Linked DNA regions of Homo sapiens: region 1 is linked to region 2. Evidence: promoter capture Hi-C in human tissues and cell types (Jung and others, 2019). All regions are on one chromosome and are shown on one strand. The core of a region is centred on a gene start or on the middle of the fragment in contact, and the rest is flanking DNA. Distances in the headings are between cores, read along the strand shown.

What was found. The method cuts DNA at HindIII sites, captures the fragments that hold promoters and counts their contacts. A contact is called where the count stands out against the background at its distance.
Region 1: a fragment that was not itself captured here is called in contact with the fragment with the promoter of KLRC1 in region 2 in 2 of the 25 tissues and cell types used here (adrenal gland and hippocampus).

Annotation. Positions count from the first base shown.
Region 1 is chr12:10,606,572-10,609,271 of GRCh38, forward strand. MAGOHB (mago homolog B, exon junction complex subunit) reads right to left here. Exons shown (of 5, transcript NM_018048.5): 4 at 1,283-1,365. Among named protein-coding and RNA genes, the nearest start is that of MAGOHB, 5.7 kb to the right of the region's middle. The HindIII fragment of the contact is 6,845 bases long and covers 1-2,700 here.
Region 2 is chr12:10,452,026-10,454,725 of GRCh38, forward strand. It overlaps KLRC1 (killer cell lectin like receptor C1), which reads right to left and starts at 1,352. Exons shown (of 7, transcript NM_002259.5): 1 at 1,173-1,352. The HindIII fragment of the contact is 6,428 bases long and covers 1-2,700 here.

The DNA of each region.
Region 1 (2,700 bases), core at 62-2,561, 150 kb after region 2:
TCATTTTAGTATTTAAAGAGTTCATATCCTTATGATTGTAATAACCACATCATAAAAATGTCTAATAAAGCAGAAAAAAATAATACTGTAATGCTACCATTTCATAGAATAACTATAAACATTTTGATGTTTCTCTATTTTTTAATAACTAAAATTATTCCTTGTGCCCTTTTTTACATTACTTTCCCCACAGCATTAAAAAAAAAAAATTCCCTAGTAATTTTTAATTAATTTAATAATTCTCTCCTTGTTAGACACTGGGGTTAATTTCCTATTATAAATAATACTTCAATGAGCATCTTCATGCATAATAAAGCTTTTCCAATATTTAGGAATAGTTCCATAGAAGAGATGCTCAGAAATGAAATTACTAGGCCAAAGGTGAATGAAAAATGTCAACAGTTTTTGATGCATATTACCAAACTGCTTTCCAAAAACCATTACCAATTTATAATCCCAGTAGGGTATCAATGCCACACCCTTACCAAATGTAGGAAAAGAAATTTGATAGTTTAAAAGCATTTGGATGGTCTTTGTGAACACAGATTTTGCGTCCAATAGTTATCATGCATTCATTCCTTTCTCCTTTCCACTAACAAATATTTATTGAAAGCATCTATTATGTGCAGGGCACTATGCTAACTCTGTGGATACAGCAAGGTTCTCAAGGAGCTTACATTCAAACCAGTAAAGCAGACAAATAGGTTATTACAATTCAGGGTGACAGAAAAAAGTAAGAGCACTATGGGGACACTTTGAGGGGAATGGGCACAAATAAAAATAAGTGGCTAGGATCAGACCAAGAAAATGGGATGTGCTACAAAACCCTGGGGCAGAGGAGAGACAGATCTTGGGAAGACATCGATAGCTAAAGCATACTTAGGCCATAATGGATTTTTTCCATCTTTTTCCCAAGTATTGAGCCCAAGAAGGACAGTGAGATGATATAGGCCTAATGAGGCTGACATAATCCAATAAGGATTTCTTTCCTTTGGATTTGCTGATACTGTATCCACATTTTTATACAAAGTAGCTAATACAACTTGGGCATTATTATATACAGCTGTTGGATTAAAAGTTTTTGGACAATCAATGAAATACTCTGCTAACTTCTACTGAGAGACAAGATAATAAGCCTTTAATGACATAAAAATCAGGATTACATCTGCATAATAAACTGATAGGATGCCACTGAAATTATCTTGGCTAGCAAACTGACTATAGTTCTAAAATGAGCCTCTGTAATAATGAAAACTTCGCCAAAATGCTTTAACATACTTACTTTGACTGATTTACATCAATAAGAGAACCTATTTTTGATGTGGTAAAAGATATGTGCTCATCTCCAATTACAATTTCAAGCTCCTAAAAAATATAGCAGAAAAATGTAGTTAATATAAAAATCTATCCCAGAGGTATCTGTATTCTTGCTACAAGCAGATCCCAATTTTAGTTGCAAGTTTTCTAGCAGCCAACAGAGGGAGTGGGGGGCGAGGGGGAAAGAAACATGGTTTCTTAGATATAAACTATATCCTTAAAATAAAGACTGCTCACGCGCACTACCCCCAAGTTTAGGACCAACAAAGAATTGCTTTCCAGAGACATAAAGAAGACACTATGAAACAAAATGACAAAGAAATATTTCTTACAATGTCAGTAAAAACTAAAGACATCACTTTGAAGCACATGTTGTAAAAATGATTGGAGTATAAGACCATTTTTAATATGATAAATACACATTTTTTCTTTCTGGAAGATTCTACAAATAAAATGTGTAATATTAATAACCACCACCACTTTAGCACCTACTGTATGTCAGGCCCTAGTGGTAGGGACTTTGTACTCTCTGTAATCTTGAAAATAACCTTACTAACCTATTTTACAAATGTGTAATCCAAAACTCATAGAGCAGAAGAAAATACTTGTTGATATTTATAACCACTAATAATGATGGTACTTATATTTGATCCCAAGATGGTAAGACTTCAAAACTAATACTCCACAAAATAACTAAAATTAAGAACTAGTAAAAAAAAAAAAAAAAAACCAACCTAATGTAGATGTTCCTAGTGTGCTGTAATTACTGTATAGATTTTTCCCTATATTGTTTATCTGCAGGCCTAAAACCAATAATTAAAAAGCTATATCTGTAATGAATCTTCAAGTTAACAGACACTATTGAAGACAATCCTAGCTATTTATTTAATCAGAGGCCTAATTATGCAGTTTATGACACACACAGAATGGAGAATTAGCTAAGATGCTCTAACAGCCATAAAACCTTTGACTTGATACAAAAGGCAATTTCTGAAGCATGCCTACTCCTCCCCACTAACCAAAACCCATGAACACATCCTTAAGTGAATAGATAAAATACTAGGCTCTCCCTGAGTCTAAATGATATAAAAGGTTAGCTGCTGTGGTTTGCTTTTTAGTACATATGTGTATCTGCATAAAACAAACTGAGGCCTAAATTTACTTTTTAAAAGTGATACGATGCTTAAAATAAATACTGTTAACTATTACCTTTGCTTTTCTAAATAATGCTTCTTTAAGCAGAAGACTTAAGTTACTCCTACAGAGTGTCAGCATGTGTTAGATTTCTCCACATTTTCTTCTATTCAAAGAAGGTGATACAAAGTACAATCCTCAGGGATATACAAAAGTGAAATTAAATGTTTCTTCCTTCCAGGGGTTGTT
Region 2 (2,700 bases), core at 102-2,601:
TAAAAATTATTTATTAAAAATTATAAAAAATTAAATATTTGTATATGACAGAAAATGCTATGTGACACAGTTAACTTATGCATAACCTAAATAGTATTAGGAACACTACATAAATTGTTAATACTTACAGAAGTATTGGTAATTTAATTAGTAATTGGTAATTTATTTCCTGGCTAAATTATGAACCAAAAAATGATAAATAAAAGTATAGGTAATTCATGTTAAAGCACATTTCATTTAAACTTATAGAATGATTTTATGGTTGTCAAAGTGAGTAAAGGCCACTTTAGTTGTATAAGTACTTGTAAAATTTCAGATAATGTAATTAAATCATTTAGTCAATGGGCTCTGGAGTCAGTGAGATCTAGAATTAATTCTAGCTTTGACACTTATAATGTGCGACCTTTAAAAAGTTATTCTATTTTTAATAACCCAGTTTGTTAATCTAAAATGGGCATAAGAACATATAAAACGTTGCATGTAAAACATTTACCACTCAACCTGGCACTTAAAGTTCTCAATAAGCATTAGCTACTTTAATTATTATTTTAGTCACAATTGTTATGTTACTGTTTCTGATTCATGTCAGTTAAAGCATGGAAAATAAATCTTCAGATAAGTCTCCTATGTCCATGCGCTACATCTTTTTTTGCAATATTTTGATCAATTTTTAAAAAGTATTTTTATTGCTTTGTAATACCTTTAGCATTTTATGTAATCTACCTCATTCTGATTTTTATTAAAAATAAAAACTGCTTTTCTCTAATCTACGTGTCTGAGGAATTGTATTTGGCTTTCATCAATTGATTGATTTATTTTAATAATCTTTAATGGCTAAGCTAAATATAAATTATTATTCAAAGATACATGATGTACTGATTACAAAATACAAAATTAATTGTTCATTATTGTGATGTTAATAGCTTTCCCTTAAACGATATTGATCAACAAACCCACTAGATTTCCACAAACAATAATTTGAAAACTTTAAGAAATCCTTCAACATATTTCATATTTTAGGTTTTTACCCTGAGTTATTCAAATGAAGACAGCAATATTCTACTTTGATTTTATTGTATATTAATTATACCTCCTTTGTATCATATTGAGCACTTGAAATCACCCACTAAATGAGGTAGGCTAGTAGAGAGTTGGAGAGTAGCAATACATACCTTCTGTCCCCAGAAAGTCACACATCCTTTAGTGGAGAGGCCAGGTTAGTCTCATAAAAAGGCCTGCTATAGCTGTGTAATAAAAGGTGAAATTTAAAGGCATAAATCCAAGACAAGAACAAACAATGCCTGCAATCTTCGCAGACTGCCCTGTGAAGGCTCAGAGTGAGTCAAGAGTGGAAAAAGTAGATTTCTCATCAACGTGTTACTAAGGTTTGAACAGGAAATTCTACACATGGGCTATTGTGAAATCAGTTTTATCTCATCACACACCTCCAAAATATAGGATACTTGGTCTATTAAAAGTACAAGGTTGACTTTGAAAGTGTGTCATTTAGTTGGTTCATTTTTCAAGTGCCTATGAGAATTTTTTTTTTTTCTGTCTTGATCACGAACATTGTCAACCCTCACCTTGTTAAGAGTGCCTTTTAGACTAGGTTGCTAAATCTTAACATTGCATACTTCTTTTCTTTATATTATTTTATTATGTCACTTCCATTATAATAGAAAACATTCTAAAACTCATAGTAATATTATCAACTGATATCTACTGATTTTTTCCTTAATTATTCTGAAAAATTACTGCAGTAATTACTCAATTGATTGTAGCTGGCACAAAAAGCATCATTGCCAAAGTTATATTATTAACTTCTCTTAGTTCTTAAATTTTTGCACTTAATTTTTAAAAATAGATTATTTAATCTTCAGATTACCCTTGATAAAAATATCTTGGATAGGTAAAATATTAATCAATTTTGAAATATATTAGCATACCAGAAATTGAAATATTAAATAGCTATTCATTACATTCTTCATTTATTCATCCTCCGCCATAACAAATTATGTCGACTTTCATAGAAATATTTAGTTGTAAATGACAAAAACTGAAGTCAAACTATGTATGGGGAAAAAGTAATTTTAAAATCTTACTAGGAGGAAAGTCAGTAAATTGGCAGAATAGGTGGTCCCCCACACATATGCCCCCACAGCAACAATAATTTTTCAGCCATCCACAGACAAAAGTTCCTTTGAGGGAGTTTGGAATTCAAGTAGGAGTTTGTAAAATGCCAGTGGAACCCAAGACCTAGGAAGGTTGTTTTAGGGAATAGATTTGCATCCAAGTGGCAGACTTACCAACAGTGATTCCATCTCCAGACCTGAAAAGGGACCCATCCTCCTGTGCTTGCCTTCAGCCCCATTTAGGCCTTGGTCATGCTGCCAAAACCATTTGCCCAGGGGCCCAGGAGGAGACTCACACACTAGTGTCTCAGGAGGTAGGCATATCAACTGTAGTCTCAATGTAGACCCTGAAACAGCCCTCTAACTTGGCTTTAACTAGTGTCAGCCACAACTTGAGATCAGTCCTTCACCCACAGAGACTTCCTGGGAGACATATACATCTGTACCTCTGGGGCATGCTTGCTGACCTCTGTCCTACAGAAGATACTAAAATGGCCCTGAATCTCCACTCAAACTCCTCTCAACTGTGACCTGAGTTAATCACAGGAAATTGCTGTGAGACTCAATC